Linked DNA regions of Homo sapiens: all the other regions are linked to region 1. The links are contacts of gene promoters, found by promoter capture Hi-C in blood cells and fetal thymus (Javierre and others, 2016). All regions are on one chromosome and are shown on one strand. Each heading gives the region's core, a stretch centred on a gene start or on the middle of the fragment in contact. The rest is flanking DNA. Distances are from core to core; before and after follow the strand shown.

Region 1 (6,099 bases), core at 2,165-4,664:
ATCCCTTGAACCTGGGAGGTGGAGGTTGCAGTGAGCCGAGATCACGCCATTGCACTCCAGCCTGGGTGACAGAGTGAGACTCCATCTCAAAAAAAAAAAAAAAAAAAAAAAAAAATTTGTTCAACATTGAAATGGTAATTCATACAAACTATTTCATAGATGGCTATAATCTCAGTCACAGTTAAGAGCACCAATCAATACTTCAATAACAGATTTGCTTTTGTTTACAAGTATTAGATAACATCCTCTGAACAGTCACTGAAGGTCATTTAATTACATATTGCCAGGTACATGCCTAAATGCTTTATAAGATTATCCTCAGGACATGCCTATGAAATCTATTATAATCCTCATTTTACACACAAGTGAAAAATCAGAAGTCCAAAGAAATAAAGTAACCTGTCCAAGAGCACAGAATGTTAGAACCAAGATTTGACCAAGGTAATCTGGCCCCTGAGCCAACTTAATATATTCTACCTGTTTTCTTAATCACTAAGTTGTAAGCCTTTCTATTTTGGTATAAATCCTCTCTTACATTTCTAGCTGAACTCGAGGAATTAGCTCCCCAGTCTCCAGGAAAGATATGTACCAAAAGAGACTGAACAAAACACCTGGCTGTTCTTCACATTGGTTCTTTGCATGAAGTCTCAAAGAAAAGTGCTCTACCGTGTATTCAAATGAAGATTTTTTTGTTTTGCATAGTTAATTGAGAGAAAGGGAAACCATTAAATTGCAGGCCAGCCAAAATTCACACTGCTCTTTTCCTTTAATCAACTTATAAAGAACTCACTTGAAGATTTCATTATACCAAAATTTAAAAATAATTCCAAAATAGCATGAAAGTTTACTTTTCTCTCCCTCCCCTCCCCCCACTGGATACTTCTTACACAAGAATGTTTCCTCGTCAAAAGGATTAATGAGCACCCTGATTCTAGATTTTTAAATAAGTATATTTCCATGATAAGTTACAATATAAAAGGGAGGGAAAGATTTTGCTTAATGTATACATGCACATCTCTACAGAGATCTGGAAAAGAATTAATTAATATATATCAAAAGGTTAACAGGGGTTATCAGTGGGCAGCAGTATTTCAGGTGTTTCTTTTTTGTTTTTTCTATTTTTTCTCCGAGAAATGTGGAATTAAAGGGGGAGGAGAGGGTAAAGAAGAAAAATAAAGAAATTAACGTTCAGTGGGAAGTGAATAAGGATCAAGTAAAACCTTATTTAGCCTCAAGGTAGTTATTACCATCTCATTTTGACAGATGGGGAAACTGAGGCCCAGAGAGATTGCATCATGCTCAAGGAGACATAGCGACTGACAGGAAAGATCTAATTCCAAAGCCTATAATCTTCCTGTGTCAGAAGATTATGAACAGTCTATTCATGTTCACTTTCATAAGAGAGACAGAAATAAGACAGGGGTAATTTAATCAGTTTCTCTTTGCTTTTATTCCCTCCACCTTTTCCCCTACAATCTGTAAATGTATTGATATTAATCTAATTATATGGTTCGTTATACAGGGGAGACACACAGTGCCTACATTATCAGATTCCTCAGAACCCACTTCTTGTTAATGCAGTGACATCAGTAAGCATCTTAGAGAATCATTCTAGCATCTCTGACCTTACTTCAGTATTAGTACTGGTAGGTTAATAGAGATAACAGGAGTCAGAATGAGGGAGACAGAAGACCAGAGGAATTCAAGGACCAAAAAGCAATGGGAAACTGGAAGTAACTTAGAATTTTTTGTTTGCAGCCTGGCCAGCATGGTGAAACCCTGTCTCTACCAAAAAATACAAAAATTAGCCAGGTGTGGTAGTGCACACCTGTAGTCCCAGTTACTAGGGAGGCTGAGGTGGGAGAATCGCTTGAACCCGGGAGGCAGAGGTTGCAGTGAGCCGAGATTGCCCCACTGCACTCCAGCCTGGGTGACGGTGAGCCCGTCTCAAAAATAAAATAAAATAAATTCATTGTGTTTAATGTTCAAGTTTACATAAGTGAAATCACAGGCTTTGTTTCAGTAAATAAACGTGTCAGAAATCTTACTGTTTATTATCTGTGCTTATGAAAAATATTGCCTGCTCATCCTAAATCAGTGATACTGATTTCTTTATAAAAACAAACATTGTGTGCATAAATAGGTGAAGAATTTGAGTTCAGAGAATGAATGGAAAAAATACAAATCTACTTTTGCTGTGAAGACTACTGACTAGCTTTTATAACTGAAAATAAAATGTGTACTTTACCTGTCAAGATTTAAAGTTCCTGTGTATATAAACTCCAACAGTTTCTGAAATCCATCAGCCTTCACCTGACTCTGATCAAGAAAGACATTGTTCTCAGAAGTGCTTCTGTAGATCGCACCAAAATACTCACTAAAGGAGGCCAGCACATTCCTATGAGCTTTAAACTGGAATTCCCCAATCACTATGGTACAGTCACAGAGAAAACCTGCTTCCCGCTGTTTGTTCAGTCTCTCTAAAAGGTGCTCACAGTGGTGCGAATACTGCATTTTGATATCAGAATGGAATTTTACCCTTGATCTAAAAGACAAAAAGAAACAGTAAATCAGTAACCGTAAGTTCTCATCAACGTTCAGTGAGGGAAGGGACAGAGGACATAACTTAAACAATTTTAGCCCCCTTGAAAATCCTTATCAAACATACATGGTTAAGAATGAAGGGATGAGTGCCTTTCTATCTTTGGTTACCTTGATCAACTAACACAATCCTTTGGACACATCAATAAGTGACGGTGAATGGCAACACTTCTACCACCTGCAAAAAGCACAGCAAAACCTGACGCTTTCACATCTGTTGAACCCTCAGATTTTCAAGCTCAGTAGACATACTTATGTTACAAAAAAATTTTTTAAACCACTAAGACATGATCTCTTGGGACAGATAGGGGCAGAACAGTACGAGTTTTTAAAAACTGCTCTCAAGTCACCAAAACCTGTTAGTTTCCCCAGTGCAGTTTCTCCAAAACGAGAGGTGGCTGCCCAGAAAGCCGGGAATGCGCCCGGCCATGGCTTGCTGTCAAAGGTTCTATCACTCGCGCTAAGGAGGCCACACCTTCTCCCTTCCCACTCTCTACGCGAGGCGGCATCCGAGAGTGACAACCAAAGCCAGTCCCTCCTCGGCTTCTGCCGCCCTGCCCTCTGCCCAGCTCCCACTCCCGCGAATTTCCACAGCAGAGGTTGTGGCCCAGGCCACCCCGGGGCTGCCTAGCCCAAGCCTTCCACCTGCGCCCCGACCCGTGCTGGAACTCCAAGGAGCCTGCCCTCTGATGGCCCAGGCTCTAGAGAGACCGGGATGGCGGGCTGGGGGTGAAGTAGGAACTCACCGATAGCAACCCAAGGGGGGAACACAGTTTCTTCACTCTGTCTCCGCCATCTTGGGAGGACGTCACCGAGCCACGCTCCGCCCCTCCCTTCCTTCCACGGTGGCGTCACGTCCGGCTCTGTCTTCCCGTGGCAGTGCGGGAGGTTCTGGGGCCATGGGGGTCCGGCGCCGGCCAGGGCGGTACAGGATGTACCACAGAGACCCACTCCCCAGCATGCCAGGGGTCCCCCGAAGCAGCAGGCGTCATGGATACGAGAGCTGAGGGCTCGCTAGCTCGCAGCGCTCCGCCTGTCTTCCTCATCGCGAGCATTCTGGTGCCGGCAGTCAGCGTCTGGCGCTCTGCCGGGGCTCTGCGCCGAGGCCCGGCAGCACAGCACCGCGGGCCTCTCTCCTGAAGCCAGCTGCGCACTGCGTGCGGGGGCTTGTAGTTGCTTGTCTTCTCCCATCATCCTCCCCTTCCTCGGGGCCCCACCGGTGGAAACTGCTGCATGTGTACTCGGATCTCTGCCATAGGGGATTTTTTAGCTGAGACTTGGCACCCCTTTCCCGCTTACGTACCTGAAAACTCTTGGCACCCCCTGGTTTTTTTGTGCCCCAGCCAACTGTAGCTCAGCTTCCAAGATGCCCTTACCTGGTGACAGAAGTCTGGGATGCACGAAAGCGGAGCAGCTGGGCACAGTGGGCATGCGCAACATTAGAGGAAGGTGGGCTTTATACCGGAAAAGGTTTTCCTGCGTCTGGACCAGAAGATTTTTAATACGATTATTTACAGCCACTTCAGACGAAAAACCAAGTGATATAATACAAAAATGCTCAGGAGGCGACAGGACTAACCACTTTTACACTTTGATCTTTCCTTCTAGGCTGTACATTATTTTTTCAGTGTTAGCTGGTGAGTCAAATTCATTTTTTAAAACCCGGGACACATGTTCCACGTGGCAAGGCTTCCATAAAAACATTTGGTGAACGAATAAAGTAACAAAAACTTACAGTTCAGACTCTCAAATTGCTATCATGTCTTTTGAAGGACCGGCATACATTAAGCTAAGGCTTCCCTCAGAAAAAAAAACAAAACAAACAACAAAAGAAAACAAAGCGTGATCTCACGCTTTCTTCCAAGCGAAGGAAAAAAAAAAAAAAAAAAAAAGGGATTTTTTAGTGTGTTTCCGCCCGGTTTCGAACCGGGGACCTTTCGCGTGTTAGGCGAACGTGATAACCACTACACTACGGAAACCCCACTTTGGAGAGGGTTTTGTAAAGTCCTTGATATGTAAGTGTCAATTCGCAATTCTCAAGTGATTATTATCAAATTGAGAGGAATGAATATAATGTATTTAAAGAAAAAAACAGAAAAGGAAAAATAGCCTATGCCCAATTGAACAGAGCTGAAACCATTTCAAAAGCTTGAATCTGCACGCACTTTCTTCCAAAGTGCCCGGGTACCGCAGTAGAAACCAGGCACTCCCGAGTTGCCCTTCCTTTGGGTGGCCTTTTTTTTTTTTGTCTCCCTGGAAAGGCGTTTTATTACACATCCTTTCCGCAGGTTGAGCTGCTCAGAGTCCGGGGCGAAGCAGGGGGCTTTCGTTATTCAGCCGCGAAAAAGCCATCCTTTCAGCTTCTGGTGGAAGGACGTGTAAAATTACTTTTGAATTTCCTCTTTTTGCTTCCGAAGACCAAGCAGAAGTTCTAAATTGACTGCTTGTTTTCAAATTCTCTACAGATGTATGCAGAATCAGACACCAAGATGCGTTTATTGACATGCAATGTACTTTCAAATTTTTCCAAACTTGAATTTCATATGACCTGATAAACTTCACTTTTCCTGCAAAAAGACAGGCACGTCCTTCAGCCTAAAAATCAAGAGTAGCGAATGAGGCTTGCAGATTACACCAGAAGGATAGAAATCGAAATATATATATTTATATTTATTATATATAAATATAAATTTTTATATATTTATTATATATAAACATAAATTTTTATATATTTATTATATATAAACATAAATTTTTATATATTTATTATATATAAACAAATTTTTATATATTTATTATATATAAACATAAATTTTTATATATTTATTATATATAAACATAAATTTTTATATTTATTATATATAAACAAATTTTTATATTTATTATATATAAACATAATTTTTTATATATTTATTATATATAAACATAATTTTTTATATATTTATGATATATAAATATAATTTTTTATATATTTATGATATATAAATATAATTTTTTATATATTTATGATATATAAATATAATTTTTTATATATTTATGATATATAAATATAATTTTTTATATATTTATGATATATAAATATAAATTTTTATATATTTATGATATATAAATATAAATTTTTATATATTTATGATATATAAATATAAATTTTTATATATTTATGATATATAAATATAAATTTTTATATATTTATGATATATAAATATAAATTTTTATATATTTATGATATATAAATATAAATTTTTATATATTTATGATATATAAATATAAATTTTTATTTATGATATCTAAATATAAATTTTTATTTATGATATCTAAATATAAATTTTTATTTATGATATCTAAATATAAATTTTTATTTATGATATCTAAATATAAATTTTTATTTATGATATCTAAATATAAATTTTTATATATGATATCTAAATATAAATTTTTATATATGATATCTAAATATAAATTTTTATATATGATATCTAAATATAAATTTTTATATAT
Region 2 (6,099 bases), core at 1,097-3,596, 1.7 Mb after region 1:
TGCAAAGGAATCAGAGGTTTAAGATGAATCATACATTCAGGAAACATAAGAATTTTCCAAAGATTCTAAAATACATATTGTACAATATATGAGCAATAATTTTCCAACCCTCTATACAACTTCTTTTTCTTTTGTGGCTAGGATAATTTTCTCTTCAAATATGGGGCAAGATTATTGCCATAAACTTTATTTATTTATATATTTATTTATTTTGAGACAGAGTCTCACCTCTGTCGCCCAGGCTGGAGTGCAGTGGTGTGATCTTGGCTCACTGCAACCTCTACCTACCAGGCTCAAGGGATCCTCCCAACTCAGTTTCCCGAGTAGCTGGGACTATAGGTGCACGCCACCATGCCCAGCTAAATTTTTATATATTTTTTTTTTTGTAGAGGAGGGGTTTTGCTATGTTGCCCAGGCTGGTCTCATACTCCCAAACTTAAGCGATCTGTTCGCATTAACCTCCCAGAAGTGCTGGGATTACAGGAGTGAGCCACCATGCCCAGCCTAAATTTGGATAGTGTTTTTGGAGGAAGAGTTTGTTTAACAAAGTACTCTGACAACAGTAAGGAATGTTTAGTTATGAGGAATTTTAAAGAGATTCCAGTAATTATCCAATGTTAATTTCTGAGAGTCAAACTAAAAAAGAGGAATTTAAAGTGGTAGATTTAATAATAAGGAAGATTATGTAGTATTTACACAACAAAACTCCCAAACTCCTTTAGACTGTTTTCTTTTACAATCAGATTCTCATGTTAATGGAGATATAATTTCTTACTGTAACTTGTTTAATAGAATGAGAACATTGTTTCTATTGAAGAAAAAGACATAGAGCAGGGTTTGGATCTGGATTCTAATCTTGCTGAGTAACTAACTTTATGCAAGACCTAAAAGGTCCTAGAGCTGTCATAGTCACTTTGATAAACTTTGGCTTCTTTACCAACATGAAAGTCTAACACCCTGGCTGTGATCAGTGAGACAGTGTATCTGCACACGAAAGCATTTTGAATAATTTAACGCAAGTTATTATTTATTAAGGAAAAGCACATGCAAGACACACTTTATTTTTACAGTGGTATAAATGCCACAGGGTAGCATCGTTATAAATTCAGTTTATTTTAGGGCTTTAGCAACCTATAATTTCAGAGTCCACCTAAAAAAACTTTTGCACCAGGAACTGTCTTTCTGTTGCATTTAGCTAAAGAGATTTACCCCCATTTTGAGCACTCAGGCCCATTAGCAATGGTAACGACTAAAGTCCAGTTAGAATATAAAAATTATGCAGTGTATCATAAATTACACCACACTATACAGACAGATAAAATTTACTTTTCTTAGAATTCAGGTCAACAGCAGAAACAAAAATTATCATTTGTGCATAACCTTAATTATTCCCCTCAAGTACACAGAAAAAATAAATGCAGTATACATTTCTTCGAAGAGGTTTGTGGTTACTACCTTTCCTGTGCTGTACTAGTTTTTACATAGGGAACCTTTGTTGCCCTTTAAAATGTAATTTAGAAATGTAACTGATGTGTTTTGCCACCAATAAAACAAATACATATGACAAAATGAATGGATACTCATTTCAGTCTGTACGATTTGTTTTTAAATTATTCTATTTGCAGCTAGAGGAGAAATGTGAGACCATTTCTTTCCTCTCTGCCAATGGCAAGCCGATTTCCCCAGCCCACGTGGACAATTGAACATTAAGTCTAGCGTGCTTCCAGTCTCCCGACTCCTGCCGGGCCATCTGTGGGCACACACACATCTAGGCTAGTACACTGGATGGGGTAAGGCAGTCGACATGGCATCTCTGGTTTGACTACCGGGATTGTGCTATGTAGCTATCCCATGTGTCTGCCGCATCAGTTTATTGGACAGGGAAAGAAAGTGTACTCAGCAGAGTGCACACAGTTACTGCCATCCATTCTTTCGTTCATACACACATTTTACTCCGCTCTCCACGTGCGTTCCGAACGAGAACTGGAACACACACACACACACACACACACACACACACGTGTTCACCGAACCTCACCCAGACTCAGGCCCGGACAAGTCCCCCGCCCACCCAAAGCTCCCCGCCCTTCGCCCTTCCGCCTGCCTCTTCCCACCCTCTCCGACTCCACGTGGGCGCACCCCGGCGCCAGGCGGCCGCGCTGCCCACAGAGCCCCTAGCCGGCCCCGGCACTGGGAGGGAAGGTGCGGCCCTGGGGTCGGACGGACAAAGCCGGCATCCAATCGAGCCCGGCACTGCCTCCCCGAAGGGAGGGAGCGTCTGCTCGGACGGGCCCAATGAGCAAGGAGGCCGAGTGGGACTTCCTCCCGGAATCCCGTTGGCCAGAATAGCCGGGCCGTGGGTGACACGTAAGTTGGGCAGGAGGTGGCGGGGCGGCAGAGGCACCAGCCGACCCGTCAGTGACACCGCTGTGCCGTCCCCAAAACCAGCCGAGACAGCTGGCCCCCACCCTTCCACCCATTGGGCAGGCCGCACGGGGGCGCGGCCCGGAGTCCTGGTCCCTTTGTTGGGCGCGCACCCCCTCCCTTAGGTGGCAACAAAGTCGTGCAGTGGGAGCCGCCGCGATAGGGCGGGGAGTGGCCAGGGCGGGACTCCAAGAACTGCCCGGGGGCAGCGGGGCCAAAAAGTGGGAAGAAGGAAAAAAGGCAGGAGGCATCTGGGGACAGGCGCGAGGGCAGCCGGCTCTGAAGTATGCGGAGGGCCTCCTCCCGGCCCCGGGCATTCGCGGAGAACGAGCCTCGCAGAAGTTTGGCTGCAGCTGCCCGGGCGGCGTCGATGGCTGCGCGCCCCGCGCCGCGCGGGGGCTGAGCGGGCGCCACTTCCCCTCCGGGCCGGCTTTTGTGTCTGGCATCTCCTCCTCATGCTGCGTCTGGCCACCTACTGCGGCGGCCGCTGCTGAGACGCTCGCTCGGACCAAGGGGAGGAGACGGCGGGGGCGGCCGCGGCTTTGGGTCCAGGCGGGACTATGGGAAACGGGATGTGCTCCCGAAAGCAGAAGCGGATTTTCCAGACGCTGCTGCTGCTGACCGTCGTGTTCGGCTTTCTCTACGGCGCGATGCTCTACTACGAGCTGCAGACGCAGCTGCGGAAAGCCGAGGCGGTGGCGCTCAAGTACCAGCAGCACCAGGAGTCCCTCTCCGCCCAGTTACAAGGTACGGCTAACGGGACGCGCGCAGCCGGTGGCCAACTTTGCCCCGCGCCTCCACCCGGGCAGGAAAAGTGGCTTTGGTGAGCTATTGGCACTGTGGTTGCCACCTCTGACCTTCAGGGACGTCAGAGGTGAGCGTTTCAGGACTGCCGGCACCAGAGTGTCAGGGGAGATGACATTCTCATCCTCCCGCTTCTTCCTCCCAGCGGTTAGGTTTAGAACTTCGTAGCACCAGCCCATCGTCCCGCTGGGCGTTTGGTGGGCGGGTGCACAGATAGTCCTTTACCCGAGCTCTTGTCAAAGGCCCAGCTGCAATCGGGGCAGGGAAACTGGTAGCCCTCCGCCGCTTCTGCCAGCCCTGCTCTGAGGAGCATTGTTCCGTGGATTCTAGGTATTTGCTTTCTTGTTGACTTTGTCAGTTGCTTAAAAAATGAAGAGTTTGGCAGAGATTTCTCAAACTGTGCTGTTTTTCAAGGGAAAATTAAGCCATGACCCAGCAGCTTAATTAAAGTCATGGCCCAGTCGAATGGAAGGAACCTAGATCTGGACCTGCTAGTTTCTTATTTCTTATTCTTTTAATTTAATAGGATGTCTTTAGAGATGCTGGATGTGTGGGAAAAGTCCACACTACATACCATTCACCATCCTGCAGTAGTTTATTTCTTTAAAAACAGGTTTACTTGTCTTCCTAAGTAGCTTTTACTTCATCACAGAGATGCATGTATGTTACAGTTAGCTTCGGGAAGCCAAAGAGGAGAAACACAGGTTTTCACTTTGCCATGCACAGCAAACCCAACTTGAGCAAGACCTGTAGAAGAACTTAAAGTTTCTATCCTATTTTAGAATCTAATTTAATGTAATTTTCACAAACATAATTTACTTTAAATGTAAATTCAGAATTTGAATTTGAATTTACTTTTAACGTAAATTCAAAGTCAGCACCATGTCCTCTTGTTAAGGACGTATCCTATACATATTTTTTTTGCAAGCTTTTACTTGTGGTTAGTTTTCAATACTTATGCAGCTTTCTCCCCAACCAAAAAATAATAATAAATAGCTGTAAGTGGTGAAATGTTGGCAGACTTTGCTGATGATGCAAATATAGCTTGTTTAATATTGCTAGGTAGATAGATGCAAGCTAGAGGGATGTTTCTGTGTATGTGTGTGCAGATATGAAACAGATGCCTCTTCTTTGCTTCAGTTATTTTGAGTGTTTTCTAGTAAAAAATTTAAGATGAGAGAAAATGATACACATCCGATTGTTTGGACTTAACTTGCTCTTCCCAACTTAGAAGAAAGAAAAGTATTTTTAGCTTACTGACGCTGCATAGCCACAGGCAATGAAAATATATGGCTCGGCTTGGTTCAAAAGTAAAACCCGTTTTGATACGCTCTTAGGTTCACAAAATTTTCTTTAAACTCATTGAAATTTACCCATGAGTTATTGTTGGTATGAGAATATGGATATTTGTTTACTTATTTATTTACAAGGTATCAGTTGCTTCCCTGTGAAGTTCCATGGAGTCAGACCAAGGGAAAAATTTACCGTCTAATAGTATAACAGGACTAGATTTTCATAAACATGGCTGGAAGGGGCATGTATGGTGGATTATATGAGGTTGTGTGTGCCTTGGTCTCTTAGGAGTCCCATGAGGGCAAAGGCTGTCATTTTCACCATTACCTCCTCAGCACCACACTGTGCCTGACACTCATTAGGGGAATCAATGCATGTTTATTCAAACAACAAACAAAAATTATTCTGAACTGTGGCGAGTAAGTTCATCCCAGGCACTTTTGTCTTTCTGAGACTTTGCTTCTGTGTCTTTGCTTTTTGAAAGCCAAATAAAACAAGAAAATATTTTGTTCAAGTAGCTCCTTTGCCTCAACGGCCTATGATGGACGATGGATATTGTTGACTGAGGCCCTAATTTCTGAATAATGGCCTTTATTTGCAGTATTTCATTTTGAAATTTTAGAAATTTCTTTTCTAATTTGCCTTTTCTTTTTTTAGTGGTGGTGGTGGTAGTGGGGAAGAGAGGTGGTAAATGGTAATACAGGATCATTAAAATATACAACTTTTGTTTTGCAGCAGATGGAAATGTTCTACCTAATTTGAATAAGTGGCTTCAAAGTCCCTTTCTTAATTTATTCTTTTGTCATTTCCTCTCTAATTATGGTGCTACAAAACTTGCAGTATAATTGTGCATGAATAATTATTTCACAAGCAGGCTAAAGTATTTTTTTGTTTGTTTTTGTTTTTTGTGGATTCACTTTTGACTTCAGTAGCATTTATTTTGGATTTCCCATGTGTAAGCCATTTAATGTACATTTTCTGGTGGTATGCAACTTTTGCTTCCCTTTTCCAAGACAAATGACATTTTACTCAACAGCACTGTGTACCACCTGCATAGATGGGCTTTTAGGACATCAGGCTCTCCAGTCTTAATACTTGTTTAGTTAGGTGGGATTGCTTGACCTGGCTTGGATTAAGATCAGAATTAATGACTTTAAAAAGAGTGGTCTTTTTAAAAATGACTCTTGAAAAAATTTCAGTAGTTTAGACCTATAATCTGATGATGTGCGTTCGTTAAGTGAGCGTATTTAGGTCACCTTCAGTTTAAGAATAGATTATACTCCATAGATTCCTTTGAAAGTGGGTTACTTGTAACCCCAAGTTAACAAGTTTTATTGTAGAAGAGCCCCATAACTAGAAGATGGTGGGGATGGCATGCAGAAAGGTCAGAGACTAGGCAAACCCCTTCCACTATAAAAATATCTATGTCTGCCTGTTTATCTATCCCTCTTAGCAATCAGTCATCTATTTATCTCCCATACTGGCACCTTAATTATACTGAGGAGTGGGACAGAGGTCACATACTGGTGGCAAAGGTAATAACAATCTTTGGCCAGCACAGTGTTTATATAACCTTTA
Region 3 (6,099 bases), core at 1,404-3,903, 1.1 Mb before region 1:
CTGGTGGGGAAAAGCTGGTGGGGATGGGGCCAGAGTGAGGCAGGGCCGGGGAAGGCGCCCAGAACTGAGCGCTGACCGAGAGAAAGAAGGAGAATGGATGGGGGAACAGAGGCGAGCGCGGGACCCGCCGGGGCTCAGGCCCTAGTGGGGCCGGGCCGGGCCGAGCTGAGCCCTGGATGCCGGCAGAACAGGGGGCGCCTGTGCGGCCGCGGCGGCGACGTTGAAGGGTGGAGGGCGGGGTGCGCGCCAGCTAGCAGAGGGCCGGGTGCTGCTGGCCAGGTTCTGTTACCCCGCATCCTTCGCGGGGACCTGCGGCCTGGGCTGGGTCCCCCGCAGTAGGGTTCGGGGCGGCGGCCGAGGGCTGGGCGGCGGGGGAAGGTCGCCGGCTTCTGCGGTGGGGCGATGGGGGCCGCAACCTGCTGTTTCCAGCACGGAGGAGCGCCCAGGGCGGGTGTCCCCACCCTCAGCGAGCTCCTCTGCGACTTCTCATCCCACCTCCCCAAGCAGTAGCTGGAAAAGTTTGTAGAGGCCAGAGTTAGAAAGTGGCCACTAGTCTAGGGTGGGTGTTCCTTACATGCAGAAATAACGGGCCCATGATGCTTGGCACATAACTTGTCCGAAATGAGACGTTTCCCTGCCTACATACCCGTTGTTAAAAAGCAAACACAAACTTTTTGTGTAGTTCCCACGGAAAAACTACCATCTCCCCTGCCCACCATGGCAGACGAAATTGATTTCACTACTGGAGATGCCGGGGCTTCCAGCACTTACCCTATGCAGTGCTCGGCCTTGCGCAAAAACGGCTTCGTGGTGCTCAAAGGACGACCATGCAAAATAGTGGAGATGTCAACTTCCAAAACTGGAAAGCATGGTCATGCCAAGGTAAGTACCCTTGCAGATCAGGCTTTGGCTTCGGCGTTGGGACTTTGATCATTTGTATTCCGTTACAGATCATGAGATTTCTATACTTAAAATTTTGTAATAAGCACTATTTTTTCCTTCCCACAATTACTGGGTAATCAGTTATTACGTTGAATACTTAAAGGTAGCATTCCCTTCTTGGGCCCTTACAATGTTCATTAACTGGGAACTGAAACTTTCCTGAATCCTAGTGACCTATAAGATCTATTTAGTTTACAGATGAGAAAACCTGTTCTAGCAATTCTAAGAAATCTACACTTTATTTTTCTTGTGTAATCTCATAATTGAATCACTGGTCTATATTGGGTCTTGACATGTCGTGATACTGTTTAGTTGTTTACTGCCTCTTAATTGTAAGACCACTACATTTTTTTTTAAGTAAAATTAGATGACCTTGGAAGGAGGAGAAAAAGAATCTGTTGTAATCAGCATTGGTATTGTGCTCTTGTGTGTGTAATGAGTGATATACTTGGCAGAGATTAAACAGGTTTCCTGTTCTCCTCTGTTAGGTTCACCTTGTTGGAATTGATATTTTCACGGGCAAAAAATATGAAGATATTTGTCCTTCTACTCACAACATGGATGTTCCAAATATTAAGAGAAATGATTATCAAGTAAGCACTGATTTTCTTTAGAATGTTGCTTGTTTCTTCAAGGTGCAAATACTTTGTACTATCAGTAATAATTTGACAAAACCCAAGAGTAGTTTTGTAGGTTTTTCTAACCAATTATTAGGCACCAGCTATCTTAGAAATTGGAGAAATAGTGATGTTTAACACATGTACTTTTCTAGGATTATTGCTAGTTTGCTATTTTTTTCACATTCTTGCATTTTTTAAAAAGTCAAATACTTATTAGTGTTCTCAGGCCAAGTGACTGCATATTGCAATTAAGTCCAATGTTTAGTAAAAGTACTATTCTCTCTGTTGTAAAATATTTCTTGTTCTAATTTAAAACATCCCTCCTGGATGTTTTGTTTCTTTTCACTGATCAGACCTGAGACATTCAAGAAACTACTGAAATTCATGTTCCTACCAAGTTTTTGCATTAATGAATGTTAGTCAGAACTTGACATTCTTAAGTAGAGAAATAAGTTGAAAGCCATAAATATAAAGGATAAAGTACCTGGTCACTGAGTATGGTGAAGAAAACACAAAAACTATATAATTGGTTAAATTATACTTAGTGACCATGCTATGACCTTTTGCTAAATTATGTATGTAAATTTCAAGTTTTAGTTCCAGTTATACATTTGGGTAGGTCATATTTAATGATAGCATTTTGTTGTTTGAAGTATTGATGATAACAAAATAATTGACCTTATAGGATGTGGAAGCTCAGATTACTTATAACTAAAGCTTTTCTTGAAAGTCTTCAATTTCTGTATCAAGCATACCATATATCAAACTCATTTCTGCTCATTTTACATAGTGAAAAATACAAAGTTGACACTGGTATTTGTTTTATCCGACTTAAACTGATTTTTTTCTGTACCCTTTGTTGTATTGTATAAATTTCTTTTAATGTTGCTATCAACTGCACTTACGCAATGATTTCCTTTTGCTGTTTGTCCACATGCAAACATACTTTTTTGTGGTTTTAATCTAGTAAACACTTTTATATTTTCACTTTCCTACTTGTCATAAATGTTTTCTAGGTTGCTTTGAAGTCTTTGTAGAAATTTGAATTGTCTTGCAAGTGGGTTTTTTTAACCAGGTAGATCTGGGTTTGGATCTAGTTCTGTCACTTTCTAGTTGGATGATTTTGGACAAGTTATACACCTTTCTGAGCCTGTTTTCTCATCTACAAAATAGTGATAATAGGAGGATTAAATGAGAAAATGTACCCCATTAAGAACTCCATAAGTAGATACGTACCAAAAAGTGCTGTTCTGTTTCCCCCTTTTCCTATGTAAAAATTCTACTTAATCATTTCATTATTGTTGGAGCACCAACTTTGATGTGGTACATAGTAGGTGCTCGAAAAATATTTGTTAAATGTATATGTGATTACTGAATGTGGTAGAGATAGTACAGCAGGCTAAAGTTGAGCGTAGAATGTTGTCAAAATTGGGTTTCTCTTTTCGTCTTAAAGTATGAAAGCTTTGACTATTCAATATTAATTATATTCAGTAATATTCATTCAATATAGAATGCTTTTGCCTGTTGCATGTTTCAGAAAGATGGTATCAGCAGTTCAGATAATTACTATTATACTATGATAAGGTTAGCCAGTCATTGATTGGAGCTCAAGACTTAAAGGAAAAATTTGGTTTGGGTCCTAGACTAGGATGAGGCAAATGAAGTGAGGGAGGCTCTTGCCTCAGGCACAAAATTTTAAATAAAGACAGAACTAGTAACAATGACAAGCCATATAGGAGCTCAAGGCGCAAAGAAAATTAATTCTGATCCCATCTTTATTTAGAATTTTGGTATTTTATCATAGGATTTTTGCATTAATTCTAATTTTTTAAAATATTGCATTAAAATGCCTATCTGATCACTGAGGTTTTTTTGGTGCCTTCTTTAATTTTGCACCCAAGACAAGTGTCTTACTTCACCCTTGTCCCAACCCTTGGTATGTACTCCGCACTGCAAAGTGGATAAGAGGATGATTTAAGCCAGGCAGGCCTGGTCCTAGTCTTACTTTGGCACTTAATAGCTGTGTGACCTTGGTTGACAAGTTACTTAACCTGTTTTGCTTCCATTTCTTTCTTTATAAAGCAGAGACATAAATAATAACGCCTCATGGGATCATTTTGAGGTTTAATTAGTTAATACAACAACGCCTGGCATAGAAAGTATTCAGTATTTCTCTGCTCTTCATTTTCAAGTCAGCATAGAAAAATAACTTATTTCTGTTAATTGTTTAAAAAACTAGTTCTCCAACCTGGGCAATGTGGTGAGACGCCATCTTTACAAAATACAGAAAAAAAAAAATTAGCGAGGCATGGTGGTGTACACAGCTGTAGTCCCAGCAGACCCAGAGGCTGAGGTGGGAGGATCACTTGAGCCTTGGGAGGTCAAGGCTGCACTAAGCTGTGATCACTCCACTGCACTCTAGCCTGGGCGACAGAGTGGGACCCTGTCTCAAAAACAAAAGTTCTGTGGGCCTTTCTATTTATATTTATTGTGCTATGGTGGTCTTCACTTACCTAACCAAGTGCCTTGATTAAATATCTACTCATTATTTGGCGTGTGTAATCCTTTATGTTTGCTGAATTCAATATTTTGAGTGCCAGTTCGGCAGTTGGCTAAAGAGAAATATGTATTCTGTTCATTATGATAATTAAAAAGTAAACAGGAAACAAAACGTATTAATATTTATAGTTTTAATTTTATGTGTTTTAAAATAAGTTCAGAATGAAAGAAAAATTGTCTCCTAACTTCTCTTTCAAGATTAGCTTGGATTAGAATTGCTCATTTACATTACTTCTCCCAAAAGTAGTTATAGATGTCCGGGACTGAGTGATGTTGAAAATTATAAATGCATCCAGATAGACCTTTGGGAATCCCCAAATTCATACAGAAATGCTTATTCAGACTTTAGCACTCTCTGGAATCATATTTCTTTAGAAAGTTCTGTGTTGATATGAACTTCACCACAAGTTAAATGCCGTTTCTGCATTTACTACAGTTTTACCTGTCATTTGAAAACCATTTTCCAGAAGGAAGACTAATTACTATAGACACATAAAGTATATATTGTAGACCTTTGGATTATTAGTGAATTGCCAAAACTGTGACTATTAAATTCTAGTATATTCTTCAAATAAGTAGTATATTATTTGAATGTTTAGATATGTTAATTGAATTCAAATAAGTAGTATATCATTTGAATGCTGAGATATGTTAATTGAATTCAAATAAGTAGTATATTATTTGAATGTTTAGATATGTTCATTGAATTCCTTGAGCTTAAAGTCTTTTTATAATTTTTACCTGTTTCATGGGAATCCTTGTGTTCTCAGATGGAAGCAGTCTTTCTTTGGAAATAGAAAACCTCTAAAGCAATAGGGCCCAATGTTGCGAGGACTAGAAGCAAATATTTGTTACAGGATCATTAAGGGTAATCATGAGAAGAGCCACTAACTTTAGTTCCTAGACCTGTGTATTCTACCTATAGGAAAAATAGCATCATATATTGAAATATATTGTAACCTGCAAAAAACAGCACTCCAGGCCAACAAAGTACCATTCAGCAGGTGCCATATTTGAGTCTTCACTAGGCTGATCCACAGAGGCAAGCTGTTTTGGAATGATAGGGTACGTGAGCCAGCGAATTATCTGGGTGTTGCACTGCCTTGTTACTTTGCCTGTAAAATTAGTTTTCTAGTCAGAAGTGATGCAGTGTGAGATACTATGACAGGAACGAGGCATTCTGTAAATTGAGATGAGATTTTAGCAGAAGCACTGCAGGCAAGAAAGGCAAATCCATATGCAGAGTAAAACTATTGCAATAAGAAAAAATTGCTGCCTGTTTCATGATGGAAGGGGTACAGTCAGGTGGCCAGCTGTTCTGGGAAACATATTAAGACTTCTTGTTCTTCTGTTCTGTGTTCTTCTTCTGCCATATCAAGACTGACCTGTTTCTGTGAGGTTTTCAGTAGTGGCTGTAGTCAGATCAGTCTTGGTGAGAGAAAGCCCGTGTCATTGATCCCACTGAGCAAAGATGAGAGAAGCTACAAAAAGAAGCTGAGGCCGGGCACAGTGGCTCACACCTGTAATCCCAGCACTTTGGGAGGCCAAGGCGGGCAGATCACGAGGTCAAGAGATCGAGACCATCCTGGCCAACATGGTGAAACCCCGTCTCTAATAAATACATAAATTAGTCAGGCGTGGTGGTGCATGCCTGTAATCCCAGCTACTCAGGAGGCTAAGGCAGGAGAATCACTTGAACCTGGGAGGCGGAGGTTGCAGTGAGCTAAGATCCCGCCATTGCACTCCAGCCTGGGCAACAGAGCAAGACTCCATCTCAAAAAAAAAAAAAAAAAAAGGAAGGCTTCTGTACATCTCTACAAAAAATACAAAAATTAGCCGGGTGTGGTGGCAGGCACCTGTAACCCCAGCTACTTGGGAGGCTGAGGCAGGAGAATCGATTGAACCTGGGAGGTGGAAGTTGCAGTGAGCCAAGATCACACCACTGCACTGTAGCCTGGTGACAGAGCAAGACTCGGTC
Region 4 (6,099 bases), core at 1,804-4,303, 1.1 Mb before region 1:
ACCTGGGTGGCTTGCAGCCCACATCTCCCCCCTTTTTATTAACTAGGATCGCCATCGCCATCATTGCTTGTCGTTGACTTCGGACTTGGTTTCGGACTCCTTGGAGGCATCTGCAGACTAAAAGGAGACTACATAAGCATACCAATATTAATAATGCCAGTAACAACAATGATCCTCCGAAGGGTTTGAGCCATTTGAAGGGATTAAAATCAGATAATTGTTTAGTTATGCCTTGAAAAATATCTGAGCCAGGAACAGTGGATAAATGGGCTTGTGAAGTCTCAAAGAATTGCTCTTTAAGTTGTGAAATATCCAACGTTATGTTATCATCACAGGTTTTTAAATGTCTTGAGACCTTTTCCCAGCTATGTTGATCTTGATTATAAGCATAAGGCGTTATGCAATAATCAGAAGTATTCCAATCACACTATAATTGCATACAGTGTTCCAAGTTCATAACTTTATCTCCCAGCCAGGTTACACTTTGGCGGAGATCATTAATTTGATTAGCTAATTTTTGAACAAATTGAGCCTGAGAATTCCAAAGTCTGGAGGAGTTTTTTTGCCATGCTTCAACATAGTGAGCAGTTTGAACAGAATTGTGGATGGCAACTCCAGCAGTTGCCGCTGTTGCAGTAACCGCAATTAGTCCTGCAAGGACTGCATTAAGAGTAAAAATAAATCTCTTTGTTCTTTTGAGGATACCTTTAAGAACTTCATTGACTGTGTGAATAGAGGGGGAAGACTCCCATGGACGATGTAAAGAAACTGGTATCCATACCCCCTCTCCAGCCCTAACTAAGAGAATACTTGTAGTGGGATTAAAAGTAGTATCAATGCACGTGAACAGCTTACAGTTATCACATTGTATAGTTTGTGTATTAGGAATAATAATTATATTTCCAACCAACAGCATGTAAGGGGGTTTGACACAGCTGCTGATGGGTATCACCCGTTCAGATATGAAGGTGATGTTGAATGTGGGTGTTTTGGTATTAGTACGAAGGAGTTGATAGGTAGTGTTCCATATCCTTATTCCTGTCAAGGCTGCAGCTAATTTCCATAGTTCAGGATGTTCTGGGGTAACAAAGGGATGAATCATTTTTGGTCTAGGAGGAGCAATGCCTGCATCCGTCCATCCATTTGAATGGGTAAGGAGACACCCATTGTCTCAGCCTGTAAGACTGCCATCCATTCTCCATATAATCTAATAAATAAATAAACTCTGAGCATGAGGTATTTTTGCCGGAGCAATCTTGCGAATAATGCCCTTTTGGAGCCCAATCAATAGCAATACCCGTGGCTAGACTTTGGAGCACAACAGCTTTGGAAGCATTACAATTATCCCATAAAACTGAAGTCACTATAAGAGGCCCCTTTGTAGGTTTCTTCGGGCAGTCTGGCAGTTCTTTTGTTTTATTAGTTTTGGTAGTTACACTTACTAATATGCAAATGGTCTCATACTGAGCCAATAGGAGCCTCTTCAGGTTGACTCTTGTATCCTTTTGGCATGATCTTATTTGGATTTTATTGCTTATTTGGTTTCTGGTATAATAGGATGTGCTAGGCTCTTCCAAATTTCCTGCCTCAGATCTGGAGTCATCCGTTTTTTTGTTGTTGTTGTTTGCTTGTTTTTTTGAGACAGAGTCTTGCTCTATCACCCAGGCTAAGTGCAGTGGCGCGATCTTGGCTCACTGCAACCTCCGCCTCCCAGGTTCAAGTGATTCTCCTGCCTCAGCCTCCTGAGTATCTGGGACTACAGGCATGTGCCACCATGCCTGGCTAACTTTTGTATTTTTAGTAGAGACGTGGTTTCGCCATGTTGGCCAGGCTGGGCTTGAACTCCTGACTTCAAGTGATCCTCCTACCTTGGCCTCCCAAAGTGCTGGGATTACAGGGGTCAGCCAGTGTGCCTGGCCAGGAGTCATCCATTTCTACAAGGAGCTCTGGACTATTTTCTAGGTGCTGGAGATGCTTGTCATTACTGGGGTGGTGTTTGTTTCTAGGCCTTTTGAGTGGACAGAGTGAAGGAATACATTTTTGTTCTTAAGAGGAAATGATATGTTTATTCTGATGCTTCCAATTCAAAATCAGGATAAAAGAGTTTTTATTTCATCAATTGTATGACCATATCTCTTTTTTCCCATGCTGAAAGTTCCAGTTCTCAATGACACCAACACAAATGCTCATTTGCTTTATCTCACAATATACACATAATAGTTTCAATAAAATAATACCAACAAAACTACCTATAATATAATGACTTTACAGCTTAAGATTGTTTTGCAGTTCTTTTTGTCCTTATGGTATATCCCACTAGAAATGAACAAAGTTTCGTGTTTTAAAGTCACTAGAAATGATTCATCTCTGTGTGGGCGTAGAACAAGCTTGATACACAGAGTCATTTGTTTCATTTTGCTTTTGATTAAAAAGTTTGCTTAAGCCCACTTTGTTTTTTATAATTCTGTAAAATATTTACAGGATTCTAAAGTCCAATCTACAAAACAAAGTATATTTAGAAAAGTCTAGTTTCTCTGTCTTTTTTTTTTTTTTGAGACAGAGTCTCGCTCTGTTACCCAGGCTGGAGTGCAGTGGTACAATCTCAGTTCACTGCAACCTCTGCCTCCTGGGTTCAAGCAATTCTCCTGCCTCAGCCTCCTGGGTAGCTGGGACTACCAGCTCCTGCCACCACACCCGGCTAATTTTTGTATTTTTAGTAGAGAAGGGGTTTCACTATATTGGCCAGGCTGGCCTCGAACTCCTGAACCTGTGATCCACCCGCCTTGGCCTCCCAAAGTGCTGGGATTACAGGTATGAGCCACCGTGCCCAGCCCCTAGAGAGGAGTTGTAAACCTGAGACTTACAGGTCAAAAGATAAATGAATGTGTAATTTCTAGATATTGCTGAATTTCCCTTTACAGGGGTTGTAGCATTTTGCTCTCCCACTAGCCTTCCCACCAGCAATCTGTGAAATCTGTTTTCCTGTAGACACACCAAGAGATAACCTTGTCCAATTTGAGGCTTAACTGACAGGTGAGACCTGGTTTTCAGGGTAATTTTCCTTTGCATTGTATTTGTGAGTGAGGTTGAATGTCAATAAGGGTCATTTGCATATCTTTCTCTGTGAGCTGCCTGTTTATATCTCTAATATATATCTGTGGAATTCTTGTTTTTATTTTTAATTTTTTACTTTTAGAAGCTCCCTCTATGTTAAGGCTATTAACTCCTTGTGTGTGATGTAAATTACAATTTCTTTTTTCAGCTTCTCATTTGTCTTTTTCCCCTACTTATGGTATTTTTGTTTTTTAACTTTTTTTTGAGACAAGCCCTTGCTCTGTTGCCTAGGCTGGATCATGGCTCACTGCGTCCTTGACTTCGTAGATTCAAGCCATCCTCCCACCTCAGTCTCCTGAGTAGCTGAGACTACAGGCACACACCACTACCTGGCTCATTTTTTAAAAAATTTGGGTAGAGATGGGGTCTTGCTATATTGCTCAGGCTGGTCTTGAATTCCTGAGTTCAAACAATCCTCCTGCCTGAGCCTCCCAAAGTGCTATTATTGCAGGTGTGAGCCACCATACCCAGCTGCTATTTTTCTTTTGTTTTATTACTAGTTTTCATTTTGTTTTGTTGTAGTTGTTGCTATAGAAGCATTATTTTTATTTTTATGTAATTAAATCAATTAACTTTTTTCTTATTGCCATGGTTAGAAAAGCTTTCCCCGTTATCAAGAATTCATTTATGTTTTCTGCTAGTACTTACATATTTTCATCTTAAAAAAATGTAGGTCTCTATTCTATTTGGAATTTATCCTGGTTTACAATTTGAGAAGTGGATCCAATTATACCTTTTTCCCATGTGACTACCCACCTATACCATTACCCCTGATGAAAAAGTTCCCAGGAAGTTTTGCTTAGCATAGGTTTTCCTACTTACTGTCTGGAAACCCTTGTATGTGGTCATGCTGAAGGGACTGGAGTCTAGATATATAGCTTCAGTGTGTGCTCTTTTACAAGCTGGATGATTAAAATGCCAGGAAGGCCAGTTTTAAACAATGTGTTGCATTTACAAATGGCTTTCTCTTTTCTTTTGATCCCTTAACAGCCCTCTGTGGCACAATATTATCTTCCCATTTTTCAGATGAAAAAACCAGGTCTCAGGTTTACTGGCTTGCCCATGGTCACACCATGGCACCCACCTCTCACTCCTCACCCAGTGCTCCTCCCACACACGGGGCCATGTCACACATCCTGCCTCTCTGTTGCCTACTAGCTTTGTGACCTTGGACACATCTCTTCACCCTCTGGGCCTCAGTTTCCCCTTCTGTATATAAAGAAGTGGTTAAAAATAGGTCAGCATTTCTCGGGCTTTAGTAACACCTGCTTCCTTTTGATAAACACAGATATTTCTCATGTTCCTTGTTCCCAGTTCCAATTGCCACCCTGTGATATAACTGATGCATAAATATCCCCACCAACCAAGGTATTTTGGGGCTTTCTATTCTGAAACAAAACAAAGTAAGATTTTTGGGATAATTTTCCCACTATAAACTCATAATATTGGATATACCTTTTTTTTTTTTTTTTTTTTTTTTTTTTTGAGACGGAGTCTTGCTGTGTCGCCAGGCTGGGGTGCAGTGGCGCAATCTCGGCTCACTGCAACTTCCGCCTCCCAGGTTCAAGCGATTCTCCTGCCTCAGCCTCCTGAGTAGCTGGGATTACAGGCCCACACCACCACACCTGGCTAATTTTTTGTATTTTAGTAGAGATAGGGTTTCACCAGGTTGGCCAGGATGGTCTCGGTCTCCTGACCTCATGATACACACAAGCTTCTTGAGAGTAACATACTTCCCCCATGATAAGGCTTTTTTTTTCTGTCCTAAAATCCTATGAGTTAATGAGCCAAACTGGGAATCATGATCTGCTATCTCAATTATGATGGAATAGATATGTTTTCTCCCAAGGGAGGGAACACTGCAACTCCTCTCTCCCTCTTTCTCTGAGATGGGGAGGTGTGAATTACAGATTCCATACATGTCACAAATATATGGTCAATGATTTCTGCCTTGGCAGTCGCAGTCATGGGAGATGATGGGTGAGTTATATATACTCTCTGCACTCAAGGAAATCCCAGTTCTAACGAGGGGAGCAAATGTGGGTACAAATGACTTTAGGTAAGTGTGGTTCATGCAGTAATAGAGATATTACAAAATGCTTTAGAAGCACCAATACCATAATGAGTGGGAAAAGGAATCCAAGAAGGCCTTCTGCAGGAGGTGGCTTACCCTGACTTCTCTTTAAGGAAGAATGGGAATTGATGGGGCAGAGAAGAAGAGGGAGAGAATTCCAGGCTGAGGAGGAATGGTGATAGTGGCTACTACTCATCGAAGGCATCTGTTTTGGAATCTTTACATACTACATCTCATTTAATTTCCACAGCTACCCTTCAAGCTAGTTATTAGTCCCCTTTTACAAATCAGAAAACCAAGGGCTTAGAGTGCTAAACAGTCGGTCTACGGCCACACAGCTAATAAGTTCCAAATTGGAATTTAAATTCAGATCTCTCTGGCTTCAATGCTCATGCTCTGTAAATGCTTTAGTGTAAAAAAATGTTTCTAAATTTCTCCCTGCCAGGCAATCTTTTCTCACAGTGATGCACATTCAGCTGGCTCCTTAGGAGAACCAAGCCTAAGAATAATCTAGCTTTTGAAGAGAACCAAGCTTCTTTTTTCCTCTTCTGGAGAACCACAAACTGGCTTAACAGAGGGCTCTCTGACGCACAGTTTTATTGTAAGAAGGCCAGTCACAGGAGACGGCCTACTGCCTTCAAGAAACAGCATGGAAGATTCCTTATTTCATCACCCCTGTACTTTTCATTGAGGTATGAAACAGACTTTTCCAATGAGACTTTTTCTCTCCTATTTCAGCTGAGACTCCAAGAACTGAGAACAAAATTAAGGTGCCAAATATTCCCACATTCCAAATCTATGCAGAGCTTACAAAGGAGGTGCTCCAGCTCCAGTTTTCTAAGACTTAGTTCATTTCCTACTTCCAGGACACATGAGAAATTGAAGACTTTTAGGCATTTGACTCATCCTTG

What was found. Contacts are between HindIII fragments. The CHiCAGO score rates a contact against its expected background, and 5 or more counts as called.
Region 2: a contact is called between the fragment with the promoter of GOLIM4 here and the fragment with the promoter of MYNN in region 1, in 1 of 17 cell types (erythroblasts). The highest score is 5.5, in erythroblasts.
Region 3: a fragment that was not itself captured here is called in contact with the fragment with the promoter of MYNN in region 1 in 3 of 17 cell types (naive CD8 T cells, total CD8 T cells and activated CD4 T cells); the score reaches 8.3 in naive CD8 T cells.
Region 4: a fragment that was not itself captured here is called in contact with the fragment with the promoter of MYNN in region 1 in 1 of 17 cell types (activated CD4 T cells); the score reaches 5.0 in activated CD4 T cells.

Annotation. Positions count from the first base shown.
Region 1 is chr3:169,770,711-169,776,809 of GRCh38, reverse strand. It overlaps MYNN (myoneurin), which reads right to left and starts at 3,414. Exons shown (of 8, transcript NM_018657.5): 1 at 3,348-3,414; 2 at 2,249-2,545. The coding sequence starts at 2,514. It overlaps TRV-AAC1-1 (tRNA-Val (anticodon AAC) 1-1), which reads right to left and starts at 4,580; the gene lies at 4,508-4,580. RefSeq lists enhancers at 3,315-3,609, 3,248-3,751, 3,325-3,874, 4,765-4,864. The HindIII fragment of the contact is 7,916 bases long and covers 1-4,751 here.
Region 2 is chr3:168,092,171-168,098,269 of GRCh38, reverse strand. GOLIM4 (golgi integral membrane protein 4) reads left to right here and starts at 2,346. Exons shown (of 16, transcript NM_014498.5): 1 at 2,346-3,171. The coding sequence starts at 2,985. RefSeq lists enhancers at 1,571-1,620, 1,818-2,319 and silencers at 1,991-2,230, 2,521-2,570. The HindIII fragment of the contact is 7,495 bases long and covers 1-4,158 here.
Region 3 is chr3:170,902,425-170,908,523 of GRCh38, reverse strand. EIF5A2 (eukaryotic translation initiation factor 5A2) reads left to right here. Exons shown (of 5, transcript NM_020390.6): 2 at 683-882; 3 at 1,431-1,535. The coding sequence starts at 718. Among named protein-coding and RNA genes, the nearest start is that of EIF5A2, 3.2 kb to the left of the region's middle. RefSeq lists a silencer at 227-366. The HindIII fragment of the contact is 744 bases long and covers 2,282-3,025 here.
Region 4 is chr3:170,854,001-170,860,099 of GRCh38, reverse strand. No RefSeq gene overlaps it. Among named protein-coding and RNA genes, the nearest start is that of RPL22L1, 13 kb to the left of the region's middle. The HindIII fragment of the contact is 1,328 bases long and covers 2,390-3,717 here.